4 separate regions of the Homo sapiens genome follow, and all the other regions are linked to region 1. The links are contacts of gene promoters, found by promoter capture Hi-C in human tissues and cell types (Jung and others, 2019). All regions are on one chromosome and are shown on one strand. The core of a region is centred on a gene start or on the middle of the fragment in contact, and the rest is flanking DNA. Distances in the headings are between cores, read along the strand shown. Region 1 holds the start of GPR65 (G protein-coupled receptor 65). Region 2 overlaps PTPN21 (protein tyrosine phosphatase non-receptor type 21). Region 3 overlaps SPATA7 (spermatogenesis associated 7). Region 4 has its middle 16 kb from the start of SPATA7.

The links. The method cuts DNA at HindIII sites, captures the fragments that hold promoters and counts their contacts. A contact is called where the count stands out against the background at its distance.
Region 2: a fragment that was not itself captured here is called in contact with the fragment with the promoter of GPR65 in region 1 in 1 of the 25 tissues and cell types used here (mesenchymal stem cells).
Region 3: a contact is called between a fragment that was not itself captured here and the fragment with the promoter of GPR65 in region 1, in 2 of the 25 tissues and cell types used here (H1 embryonic stem cells and dorsolateral prefrontal cortex).
Region 4: a contact is called between a fragment that was not itself captured here and the fragment with the promoter of GPR65 in region 1, in 4 of the 25 tissues and cell types used here (aorta, bladder, dorsolateral prefrontal cortex and 1 more).

Annotation. Positions count from the first base shown.
Region 1 is chr14:88,003,496-88,006,882 of GRCh38, forward strand. GPR65 (G protein-coupled receptor 65) reads left to right here and starts at 1,640. Exons shown (of 2, transcript NM_003608.4): 1 at 1,640-1,727. RefSeq lists enhancers at 2,055-2,224, 3,025-3,084. The HindIII fragment of the contact is 6,432 bases long and covers 1-3,387 here.
Region 2 is chr14:88,467,058-88,470,444 of GRCh38, forward strand. PTPN21 (protein tyrosine phosphatase non-receptor type 21) reads right to left here. Exons shown (of 19, transcript NM_007039.4): 16 at 2,865-2,993; 17 at 2,442-2,676; 18 at 1,859-2,019; 19 at 1-1,208. The coding sequence ends at 1,080. It also overlaps a transcript of SPATA7 not described here. Among named protein-coding and RNA genes, the nearest start is that of SPATA7, 83 kb to the left of the region's middle. The HindIII fragment of the contact is 3,373 bases long and covers 103-3,387 here.
Region 3 is chr14:88,410,599-88,413,985 of GRCh38, forward strand. The region is part of intron 4 of SPATA7 (spermatogenesis associated 7); the gene reads left to right. Among named protein-coding and RNA genes, the nearest start is that of SPATA7, 27 kb to the left of the region's middle. The HindIII fragment of the contact is 4,550 bases long and covers 1-3,387 here.
Region 4 is chr14:88,367,712-88,371,098 of GRCh38, forward strand. No RefSeq gene overlaps it. Among named protein-coding and RNA genes, the nearest start is that of SPATA7, 16 kb to the right of the region's middle. The HindIII fragment of the contact is 5,913 bases long and covers 1-3,387 here.

The sequences.
Region 1 (3,387 bases), core at 390-2,889:
TCTTTTGAAAAGCAAAATACATGAATATTAGATATGGACATGAAAATACCCTTTCCCTAAAAGCAGAAGTATAGTCTATTCAGATAAAGTAAGAGATCATCAGAGTAATGAAATACCTACGTAACAATGCACTTGTACCCCGAACTTAAAAAAAGATATATCATGTATAGAAACCACAGATAAGCAGATGTACGAAACCAAGCAAAAATGAGAACTTTGAATTACAGTCACAAGTAAACTGAAATCGTTACTTTTCATTTTTGTAAAACTTCAAGACATTTATTGTTAATTTTTTACTTTATACTTAATTTTTATTATTTCAGTAACAATATATTGATTTATAATTTACTATATGCTAAATTACTTTATAAACTATCCTGTGCTTTATAAATGTAAGGTATTAGTTTTATTATTCTCAAAGAAAGACCTACAACGGAAGTATTGAAAATCTTTACATTCCTGATATACCCTGATCAACTTCAATATGGAAAGCCTTGCTTATATACAGGCTAATCTTTTCTATCTCTGGGTAGGGAGAAAAAAACAACAAAAAAAAAACACCAGCAACAACCCTTAATGTCCTTTAACAAACACAGATTCAAAATGTCCTGATTACATCTTTAAAATTAAGTCAAATGTTTTCATCCCAAATAAATTCTGTTCTTTCAAATAATATTTTCCCTTCATTTCTAATAAAAGTTTATGAGGGCAAGATTCAAAAGTGATATTTCTGACTTTTTTATATATCAATAGTAAGAAAGTTATAGGAGCTAATTTCACTTCATATTAAACCACTTATAGATTTGGCATTAACTTTAACTTGCTAAAGTACAAGAGTTTTTATAATAACAATGTAAGTCTTAAATAAAATTTTCAAGTTTCATAAAATTATTTGTCTCAGCTAGTTAATTCAACTGGTTTTTAGCCATCTCTGTTTCCAAGAGGAGAGAATCAAAGGAGAAAATAGTTCTACAATCAAATACTATATATCTAATCCCATTAGTCTCTCAAAAAAAAAAAGAAAAGAAAGACGGTATGAGGTTGGCTACCTTAACCCCTGCCTTAAGCAGCACAATATCCATCATTAAACCCCTCAGCCTCAATTCTCCCTTTTCTGTTTTTGTCCCAGGAACTTTATCACCCTGAATCTACCTACAATATCCTCCCCTATCTCACACATCCAAATGGTTCATTCTATTTTATCTGTACCCCTCTTGAAGTACTTCTTCATTTTGCCATTGCATTACAATCATTATTAAACATGTCTTTCTCCTTTACTAGGTAAAAAAAGCTGCTTTTGGTTGATAGCCAGTTCGTATACATCTCCCCGCACACTGCTGGCATGATGAGTGAATGAATGAATGAATGAATGAATGAACAAAGAAATAAATAAAATATTTAACATATATTCCATTAAGTAAAGGGCATATAATATAATATCAGTACATACTTGTAATTAAGATGCAATGAGACAAGTGAGTTATAAAAATTACAGTACAGTAAACAATAAATAAAAACATCTTTAAAAGTATTTAAGAGACTTTTTTTGTTCAAACTTGGATAACGCACACCCTTCTCATTGAGATGCTGCTTCCTCATTGGTTTGTGCTGAAATATGAGTGCAATTTCCTGTCCCCTCAGCAGTGTTGGTTTCTCTTCTTGACTTGATGCAGGCACAGATTTATCAAGCTCCTCAGTCAACAAACACATCACCGGAAGAAATATGGGTAAGTATAAGATTAAAAAATAAAATAATATTTTAAAGTAGATAACATGCTTTGGCATAATTGTCAGTGATGTTCGCAACATTCTTCCTGGTTTAGGCTGTATAAATGTGGTAATGCAAAGCATGATAAGAGAGAAAGAAATGAGGAAGACACATGGTTTCCTCTACTTTGAGCAGTGGTAAAGGGCCAAACTTTAAATTTAGAACTAATTAGGCAAAACCATAGATATAGAAAAAGGGGGTTGTTCATACTTTATTTTCTTTTCAGGAAACAGTGCTTTGGCAAACTTCATTCAGTATTAGGAAGAAGCCTACCAGCCCCTGGCTTTAGAGCTATCTGGCACCAATCCCTCATCTGTACAATGGTCCAGTAAATACTTTTTATATCCATCAGAAAAAAATGTGATATTAGGAAAGAATATTTCCAGTATTAATAAATGTCAAGTAATAATTATTAGTTAATAAGTGACTACCACAGTGCCTGAAATATATAGTAGAGTCTTAATAAGTAACTATTAAACTGATAGATGAAAGCAAGCATTTTCTATAACACTGTAGGAAAATATTGTACTTTTGGTCATCGTCATCAATGATTTGTACTATTTTTAGATCTGTTCAAGAATAGATATACTTTAATATACTGTAGATTGTCTTTTTTGACATCTGGTAAAAATTAAAAAATTAAAAACTCACCAAAATTTCTCAGTGCTTGTTCTAAAAACAATTTTCTCAAAATTTGATTAAAGGAGGCAAAATAATATCTGAAAAGATATGTGAATACTGTAATAGGAATTATATACAGTATTCCACTAAAATCTCAGATCCACCCAAATTAAATGAACAACTATTATCTGCAGAGCCTAGTATTATACGTGAAGTGTTACCATATAAATTACACTCTGAGCACCTCCAGCTTTTCTGCTATGCTGTGGCTAGATGACTAAAGATGATTTCTTTTCAGAAAATGTAGGGGACAGCACAAAGATTGGTGCAGACTACCAATGTCATTAAAACAATATTACCAGCTAACGTACAGTGAATGCCTCCCATGTGCTAGGAACTTTGCTTCATATGTCGTTTCATTTAACCCTCACAACAATCTTAGAAACTGGGTACTAACTTACACATGTGAAAACTGGAACTTAGAGAGGTGAAGAAACACCAATGGGCCCAGAGTGCTGTTGAGAGGCATTCGAATTGTCTCCAGAGCCCACGCTCTTAACCACAAGCCTGTACTGCCTCTGCGTCACTACAAAGAAGAGGGCCTCTGCTTCATCAACCCATCCTGTCTTGTGGTTAAGTCAAGGCAGGAAATGCTTTTACAGCTAGAGAAATGTATTCCATTGAAAACTTTATAAACCTTTCTAAAAATCATTTTTTCATTTAATCTGTCATACCATTTTTAAAGAAAATGATGACTATCTATTGAGTAACACGGACAAAGGAGGAAGAGGCACATGCTGCCCATTACCCGACTTTCTCGGTCCTGGTCTTAAGGGGAGGATGTTTTCATGGTTCAGGTGTTCTTCCCAAGACACATGAGCCTGGTGTTGGACGTGTTGTGTGTGCATCAGAGTCCCATCCGCGGGGGCTGATTCAATCTTCCTGCATCGCAGACATTACCCTAGTGTCCTTTTCCTACTTCAGTTATATCCTTTAGA
Region 2 (3,387 bases), core at 539-3,038, 460 kb after region 1:
CCCTGCTCGCCATCCCAGCACCTCAGTCTGAGTATAGATAATACTGCATTTTTGTAAAGACGAAGGCATCCTGCATTTACCATCACACTCCACCTACTCTTGTCCTAGTCATCTTACATACTCTTAGTCCTTAATCTCTCCCAAAACGCTTCTCAGCGCCCATTGTTATTGTGTCATCTACAAAGCAACACATATATTAAAACTCAGATTTGTTTTTAACAAAAAAGTGCTTAAAACCACCCTAGGCAATTGTTTTTCACTTCATTTTCAACCAATAAAATCAAATTCATTTAGATCTATGAATAATACTGAAAAAATAATGCTTATTCTCTTACATTTTAAATAATGTGCCTTCATCCTCAACTTTACATTAACTGACTCATTTCAGTATCTAAATGAATTGAGCTCTCATTTGAAAAACAGAAGGTACAACTATATAGAATTTTTAGGATAAAAAATGTTCTGGATAGAAAAATCCTTTTGATGTTTCAAAATAACACAGATTCTCAGTATAGTTTTCAGTTTGGCAACTAAACCATTATTAAGTACCCAAGGTTTTTAAAAAATAACAAAAGATAATAACATGATTTTTAAATACAAAGTTATATAGGAGCAACTCATATCTGTGGATCATCCTTACACAAAGTTGTTTCTCACTAGAAAAATCCCTAAATATTTGTCATAAAATAAAAACTCCATTATCAAAAATTAGTTTAAGATAGAAATCTATGCACTTTAATGATTGCCAGAATTGCCCAGCATAGCTTCAGTAAAATAGAGAATTGTCTAGAAAATACAATCTCCAAAATGTGTGCAAGTACTGCAAACCGGACAGACCGGGGCAGGGCAAGGCCCTTGAAACCAAGTCCTCCTTGAGCACCTTTCCCAGGTTAGAAACCCCTCTTCAGCCTGTGCTTCGCACGTTTCCTTCAGCGTGCCGCCATTCAGACTGCGCCACTTACGTCCCAGTGCCACGCTGCGTGGATCAAGTGTCAACGGGAAAGTATGAGTTAGGCAAGCGCTTTTTTTTTAAGCTGTAAACGCTTCACATGACTGGCCCCGTAAGAAATTGTGGGAGCTTAGATGAGCCTGGAGCTTTTCAGGAACTGGATGAGGACTCTGTACACAAATGTGTACTGGCAGAGAGTCTGCACCAGCATCATTCTCTGTTGCCTCAGCATGTCCAGCACTCTCGGGATGTCCAGCACCTAGGTTGAGAGAAACGGTAATGAAGATAATGTGTTCCCCTGGGGAGACAGAAAGGATGGGAGGACACGAGTGTCCTGGCAGAAACCTGGTTGGGAGATGGACAGTCTCTTTTCCACCTTAGCGTCTTCTAGAAATAAGCCATGATTGCCTACTTCTGATTTTCTGATTAGTTTTAGCTATAAATAGAATGTCCATGCAGACTATTTCTTCAACATTCCCCAGGTGTAGCTCACTGACTTTGTATGGTTGGACATAATTACCATGTCTCACTAAATACCAAAATTATACAAAAACATAGTGTGCTAAGTGCTATCAGTATCTAGCTATTTCCCTCAAGGGCTCTGGGCAGCATGAATCATCCTTGAAATGTAAACAGAAAAAGAATTCTGAGCTCAAATTTGAAAAACCCTGGGCAAGTAAAACAAAATTAAACAGCTTTATTTATCGTATGACTTCTTAGTCTTTAATATGCTAATTGGTACTGAGACTCTCCAAGAAGACACAGCCTTTTGCAGGGAACATTAGTAACATCTTGAGGCCACCACAGTCCAAGGAAATGTGCGCAAAAAGAGCTATTAAGTCACTATGTCCCTCTCTTCCCCAGCCTCATTTCCACCCAAAAAGGCCAGGTGATCATAAGCGCCATCACCTCATTGTGTTCCAGGCAGGCGATCATGATCTCCGACAAAATCACCACGCCAGTCCTTCCTACCCCAGCACTGCAGTGGACCAACAACGGAGGGTTGGGGCTTTGGGGATCACTTGTGCTATTTGTATGGCGTCGAACAGACTGGATCTCTTCAAGATATGCTGTGGAAAATCAATGAAATAGAAAAGTACTCAAGGATCAAGGCGTATCACATTGTTGACTCAATCTTCATATTCTCTCCACTGATTAAGAGGACTGCAGATAAAGAGCACTGGGTGCCAGTGAACCAAACCCAACCACAAAGGGACAGTGTGACCCTGAGCAAGTCACTACCTCTGTCCACTTTCTGATCTACAAAATGAAATGACGGAGATACTGAGTCAGCTGTGGCATTCTACTCACTACCAAATCATAATTTATAAACCTCGTTAACCCTCCCCAAAACACTTGTATTCTTTATGTTAAAACAAGTCCGAAGCTTATATGAGATAACATAAAGGAAATATTTCGGAAACATAAATGTTCCTCTCTGTTTAACACCTCCAGAGGCAGCTGTCCTCGGAACAAAGTTAAAGTCACTCACATAAAAATCCCTTGAGGTCTTCTGGACAGCCATGTTCAGGCCAGTCTGTGTATTGGAGGTGCCAGACGGTCCTCTCTTGCCCAGTAAGGAGGTGCTTCATCTTCAGGCCTGTGGTGGCATAGCAGCCAGAGTCTGTGCGGAACCGGGTCGTGATCTTAAACCTTCCATAGGTGACAGTGTTGTGCCTGGAACCAAGTCGTGGCCAGTACCTAAAGCTCTTCTCCCTTCCACCCTCCTGTTAAAGATGAGCATGGTTAAATGACTCGAGATCCGGCAATGGATGCCTTTCTCACATAGACGGCACATCTGAAACAGAACCACAACCCTACCCTGCCTTTTTCTCCACAGGTCAGGATTCCAGATGATTAACATTAACTGTTCTTCAGAGGCTGAGAAAATCACTTAAGAGAAATAAGTACCTACCTCTTCTGCTGTCACCATTGCTATAATTGCAATTCCCTGTTCCCATACCATCTGCCAAAAATCTTGACAGGTATTCTGTAATGGTCCCTGTGTGGCAATATAATCCCATTCGATTCCACTGACAGAGACCTGGGATTAGAAAAGGTTAAAAAAATTGATGTGTGGGTATAATATACATAGGTATGTATGCATGCATTCATGGTAGTACTAAAAAAGTTTTTTTAAAAAAGTAAAAAGTAAAAAAGTAGTAAACTGGATTATTCAGCAGAATAAGGAAAGACTTTTCATCTTTTCCCTTGTGAATACAATTTGCATTACTGACATTTTTATAAACTTAGGTACTGTGAATATACATAATATCTATGCAACCTGTTTAACCTTGCTGAATGTCAGTTCTCATTTATACAATAAAGATACTGCCTACCGTCATAGGGTCATTGTGAGGACTGAGTCAGTATCTATGGTACCTGGCACATAACTCAATAAGTAGCTGTTATTGCAGACATGGTGCCTCTTCTTTAAA
Region 3 (3,387 bases), core at 302-2,801, 410 kb after region 1:
GATGTTGATGCTATTCCTTTCTGTTTGTTAGTTTTCCTTCTAACAGTCAGGCTTCTCTGCTGCAGGTCTGCCGTAGTTTGCTGGAGGTCCACTCCAGACCCTGTTTGCCTAGGTATCACCAGCGGAGGCTGCAGAACAGCAAAGATTGCTGCCTGTTTTTCCTTCAGGAAGCTTCGTCCCAGAGGGGCACCCGCCATATGCCAGCCGGAGCTCTCCTGTATGAGGTGTCTGTCAACCCCTGCTGGGAGGCATGGGGGTCAGGGACCCACCTGAGGAGGCAGTCTGTCCCTTAGCAGAGCTCAAGCACTGGCTGGGAGATCCGCTGCTCTCTTCAGAGCTGGCAGGCAGGAACATTTAAGTCTGCTGAAGCTGTGCCCACAGCCACCCCTTCTCCCAGGTGCTCTGTCCCAGGGAGTTTTATCTATAAGCCCCTGAGGGAGGCTGCTGCCTTTCTTTCAGAGATGCCCTGCCCAGAGAGGAGGAATCTAGAGAGGCAGTCTGGCTACAGTGGCCTTGTGGCGCTGTGGTGGGCTCCGCCCAGTCTGAACTTCCTGGCGGCTTTGTTTACACTGTGAGGGAAAAACCACCTACTCAAGCCTCAATAAGGTGGATGCCCCTCCCCCCACCAAGCTCTAGAGTCCCAGGTCAACTTCAGACTGCTGTGCTGGCAGGGAGAATTTCACGCCAGTGGATCTTAGCTAGCTGGGTTCTATGGGGTGGAATATGCTGAGCTAGACCATTCGCCTCCCTGGCTTCAGACCCCTTTCCAGGGGAGTGAATGGTTCTGCCTCACTGGCATTCCAGTTGCCACTGGGGTATGGAAAAAAACTCCTATAGCTAGCTCAGTGTCTGCCCAAACAGCCACCCAGTTTTGTGCTTGAAACCCAGGGCCTTGGTGGTGTAGGCACCTGAGGGAATCTCCTGGTCCGTGGGTTGCAAAGACCATGGGTAAAGCATAGTATCTGGGCCAGAGTGCACACCGTTCCTCACAGGATAGTCCCTCATGGCTTCCCTTGGCTAGGGGAAGGAGTTCCCCTACCCCTTGCGCTTCCTGGGTGAGGCAACACCACACCCTGCTTCAGCTCACCCTCCGTGGGCTGCACATATACAGTATTTCATCCTGTATATGTACCACATTTTCTTTATCCAATTCACCATTAATGGACACCCAGGTTGGTTCCATATCTTTGCTATTGTGGATAGTGCTGTGTTGGATATGAGGGCATGTGTCTTTTTGGTAGAATGATTTTTTGGGGGGGGTTTATACATGGTAATGGGATTGCTGGGTTGAATGGTAGGTCTATTTTTAGTTATTTGAGAAGTCTTCAAACTTTCCTCAGTGGCTCAGTCTTCAGCTTTCCTCAGTGGCTGAACTCACATTCCCAAGAACAGTGTGTAATTCCTTTTTCCCCGCAACCTTGCCACATCTACTATTTTTTGACTTCTTAGTAATAGCCATTCTGGCTGGTATGAAATAGTATCTCATTGTGATTTTATTTGCATTTCTCTGATGATTAGTGATGTTGAGTACTTTTTTATTTGTTGGCTGCTTTTATGTCTTCTTTTGATAAGTGTCTATGTCCTTTTCTCACTTTTTAATGGGGTTATTTGTTTTTCTTCTTGCTTTTTTTTTTTTTTTTAAGTTCCTCATAGATTCTTGTATTAGGGTTCTCTAGAGGGACAGAACTAATGAAATATATATATAAAGGGGAGTTTATTAAGTATTAACTCACATGATCACAAGGTCCCACAATAGGCCGTCTGCAGGCTGAGGAGCAAGGAGAGCCAGTCTGAGTTCCACAACTGAAGAATTTGGAGTCCGATGTTTGAGGGCAGGAAGCATCCAGCACAGGAGGAAGATGTAGGCTGTGAGAGTAGGCCAGCCTCAACCCTTCACGTTTTTCTGCCTGCTTTATGTTCGCTCGCAGCTGATTAGATGGTGCCCACCCAGATTAAGGGTGGGTCTGCCTTCCCCAACCCACTGACTCAAATGTTAATCTTCTTTGTCAGCACCCTCACAGATATACCCAGTACCAATACTTTGCATCCTTCAATCCAATCAAGTTGACATTCAGTATTAGCCATCACAATTCTTGATATTAGTTTTTTGTCAGATGCATAGTTTACAAATATATTCTCCCATTCTGTTGGTTGTCTGTTTACTCTGTTGATAGTTTCTTTTGCATTGCACAAGCTTTTTAATTTAATTAGGTCTCACTTGTCAATTTTTGTTTTTGTTGCAATTGCTTTTGAGGACTTGGTCACAAATTCTTTGCCAAGGCCAATGTCCAGCAGAGTATATCCTAGGTTTTCTTATAGAATTTTTATAGTTTTAGGTCTTACATTTAAATCTTTAATCCATCTTGTAGCCTTGTAGTGTAGTTTGAAGTCGGGTAATGTGATGCCTCCAGTTTTGTTCTTTTTGCTTAGGACTGCTCTTTTTTGGTTCCATATAAATTTTAGAATAGTATTTTCAATTTCTGTGAAAAATGATGTGAGTAGTTTGATAGGAATAGTGCTAAATCTCTAGATTGCTTTGGGCAGTATGGACATTTTAATGATATTGACTCTTCCAATCCACGAACATGGAATGTTTTTCCGTTTGTGTGTGTCAGCTCTGATTTCTTTCAGCAGTATTTTGTAATTCTTTTAGATATCCTTCACCTCCTTAGATATTTTCCTAGGTATTTTATTTTGTGTGTGTGTAACTATTGTAAATGAGATTGTGTTCTTGATTTGGCTCTCAGCTTGAATATCATTGGTGTATAGAAATGCTACTGATTTTTGCACATTGATTTTGTGTCCTAAAACTTTACTGGAATCGTTTATTAGTTCAAGAAGCCTTTTGGCAGCATCTTTAGGGTTTTCTAATTATAGAATCATATCATCAGGAAAGAGATAATTTGACTACTACTTTTCCAATTTGGATGTGTTTTATTTCTTTCTCTTACCTAATTACTCTGGCTAGGACTCCAGTAGTATGTTGAATAAGAGTGGTGATAGTGGGCATCCTTATGCTGTTCCAGTTCAAAAGAGGAATGCTTCCAGCTTTTGCTCATTCAGTATGATGTTGGCTGTGGACTTGTAATAGATGGCTCTTATTATTTTGAGGTATGTTCTTTTGATGCCTAATTTGTTGAGGGTTTTTTTTTTTAATCATGAAGGATTGCTAGATTTTATTGAAGGTTTTTGCTACATCTGTTGAGATGATCATAAGGTTTTTGTTTTTAATTCTGTTTATATGGTGAATCGCATTTATTGATTTGCATATGTTGAACCAGCCTTTCATTCCAGGAATGAAGCCTACTTGACTGTGGTTTATTAACTTTTTGATGTGCTGTTGGATTCAGTTTGCTACTATTTGTTGAGCATTTTTGTGTCTATGTT
Region 4 (3,387 bases), core at 245-2,744, 360 kb after region 1:
TCCATCTATGTCCCTACAAACGACATCATCTTGTTCTTTTTTATGGCTGCATAGTATTCCATGGTGTACATGTCCACATTCTTTATACAGTCTATCACTGATAGGCATTTGGGTTGATTCCATCTCTTTGCTATCATGAATAGTGCTGCAATAAACATATGCATGCATGTATCTTTATAATAGAATGACTTATATTCCTTTGGGTATATACCTAGTAATGATATTGCTGGGTTGAATGGTGTTTCTGACTTTAGATCTTTGAGGAATCTCCACACTGTCTTCCAGAATGGTTGAACTCATTTACACTCCCACCAACAGTGTACAAGTGTTCCTTTTTCTCTACAACCTCACTGGCATCTGTTATTTTTTGACTTTCTAATAATCACCATTCTGACTGGTGTGAGATGTTATCTCATTGTGGTTTTGAATTGATTTGCATTTCTCTAATGATCAGTGATGTTGAGATTTTTTTCATATGCTTGTTGACCACATGAATGCCTTCTTTTGAGAAGTATCTGTTCATGTCTTTTGCCCACTTTTTAATGAGGTTCTTTGTTTTTTTCTTGTAAATTTGTTTAAATTTCTAATAGATGCTGAATACTAGATCTTTGTCAGATGCATAGTTTGCAAAAATTTCCTGTCATTCTGTAGGTTGCTTGTTTACCCTGTTGATAATTTCTTTTGCTGTGCAGAAGCTCTTTAATTAGATTACTTTTGTCAATTTTTGCTTTTGTTGCAATTGCTTCTAGTGTCTTTGATGAAATCTTTGCCCAGAGTATACTTTCATATACCTGTTTGCCATTTGTATGTCTTCTTTTGAGAAATGCCTATTCAGATATTCTGCACACTTTTTAATTAGTTTATTAGATTTTTCTTTCTTATTGAGTTGTTTGAACTCCTTAGATATTCTAGTTGTTAATCCGTTGTCAGAGGAATAGTGTGCAAATCTTTTCTCCCATTCTGTGGGTTGTCTCTTCACTTTATTTTTTCCTTTGCTGTGCAGAAGCTTTATAACTTGATGTAATCCCATTTGTCTATATTTGCTTTGGTTGCCTGTGCTAATGGGGTATTGCCCAAAAAGTCTTTGCCCAGACCAATGTCCTGGTGTTTCCCCAATGTTTTCTTGTAGTAGTTTCATAGTTTGAGGTGTTAGATTTATTACTTAAATGCATTTTGACTTGATTTTGTTATATGGTGAGAGATAGATGTTTAGTTTCTGCATATGGATAACCTGTTTTCCCAGAACCATTTATTGAAGAGACTGTCAATTTCCCAATGCGTGTTCTTGAAACCTTTGTTGAAAATGAGTTAGCATAAACGTATGGATTTATTTCTGGGCTCTTCATTCTGTTCCACCAGTCTATGTGTCTGTTTTTATGCCAGAATCATGCTATTTTGGTTACTATAGCTCTGTAGTATAATTTGAAGTCAGATTATATGATTGCTCCAGTTTTGCTCTTTTTGCTTAGGATAGCTCTGGCTATTCTGGGTCTTTTGTGGTTGCATATACATTTTAGGATCGTTTTTTCATTTATGTGAAGAATGTCATTGGTATTTTGATAGAGATTGTATTGAATCTGTAGATTGTTTTCGGTAGTATAGACATTTTAACAACATCAATTTTTCCAATCCATGAACATGGAATATCTTTTCATTTTCTCATGTCCTCCTCAATTTCTTTCATCAATTTCTTTTATAGTTTTCACTACAGAGATCTTTCAGTTCTTTGGATAAATTAATTGCTAGATATTGTATTTTATTTGTAGCTATTGTAATTGGTATTTATAAGCTATTGTAATATTGACTTGCAAAAATTAGCCTGTAAGTACTAGACAGATGATTGGCAAGATGGCCAAATAGGAACAGCTCCAGTCTGCAGCTTCCAGCCAGACCAATGCAGAAGGTGGGTGATTTCTGCATTTCCAACTGAAGTACCCAGTTCATCTCATTGGAACTGGTTAGACTGTGGGTGCAGCCCACAGAGAGCAAGCAGAAGAAAGATGGGGCATTGCCTCATCCAGGGAGCACAAGAGGTTGGAGAACTTCCTCCCCTGACCAAGGGAAGCCATGAGGGACTCTGCTGTGAGGGACAGTGCTATCAAGCCCAGATACAACGCTTTTCCCATGGTCTTCACAACCCACAGACCAGGAGATTCCCTTGGGTGCCTATACCACCAGGGCCCTGGGTTTCAAGCACAAAACTGGGTGGCCATTTGGGCAGACACTGAGCTAGCTGCAGGAGTTTTTTTTTTTGTTTGTTTTGTTTTGTTTTTGTACCGCAGTGGTGCCTGGAATGCCAGCGAGACAGAACCGTTCACTCCTCTGGAAAAGGGGCTGAAGCCAGGGAGGCAAGTGGTCTTGCTCAGCATATCCCATCCTACAGAGCCCAACAAGCTAAGATCCACTGGCTTGAAATTCTCCCTGCCAGCACAGCAGTCTAAAGTCGACCTGGGATGCTCCAGCTTGATGAGGGGAGGGGCATCTGCCATTACTGAGGCTTAAGTAGGTGGTTTGCCCCTCACAGTGTAAACAAAGCTGCCAGGAAGTTCGGACTGGGCAGAGCCCACCACAATGCCAAAAAGCCACTGCAGCAGACTGCCTCTCTGGATTCCTCCTCTCTGGATAAGGCATCTCTGAACAAAAGGCAGCAGCCTCAGTCAGGGGCTTATAGATAAAACTCCCATCTCCCTGGGACAGAGCAACTGAGGGAAGAGGCGGTTGTGGGCACAGCTTCAACAGACTTCAACATTCCTGTCTGCCAGCTCTGAAGCGAGCAGCAGATCTCCCAGCACAGCACTTGAGCTCTGCTAAGGGACAGACTGCCTTCTCAAGTGGGTCCCTAATCCTAGTGCCTCCTGACAGAGAGACACCTTCCAGCAGGGGTCAACAGACACCTCATACAGGAGAGCTCCAGCTGGCATCTGGCAGGTGCCCCTCTGGGACAAAGCTTCCAGAGGAAGGAGAAGGCAGCAATCTTTGCTGTTCTGCAGCCTCCACTGGTGATACCCAGGCAAACAAGATCTGGAGTGGACCTCCAGAAAACTCCAGAAGGCCTGCAGAAGAGGGGACTGACCGTTAGAAGGAAAACTAATACAAAGAAAGCAATAGCGTCAACATCAACAAAAAGAACGACCACTGAAAAACCCCATGCGAAGGTCACCGACAGCAAAGACTAAAGGTAGATAAATCTATGAAGATGAGGAAAAACCACTGCAAAAGGGCTGAAAATTCCAAAAACCAGAATGCCTCTTCTCCTCCAAAAGATCACAACTCTTTGCCAGCAAAGGAACAAAATTGGACAAAGAATGAGTTTCACAAATTGACAGAAGTAGGCTTCAGAAGGTGGGTAATAACAAACTCCTCTGAGCTAAAGGAGCATGTTCTAAA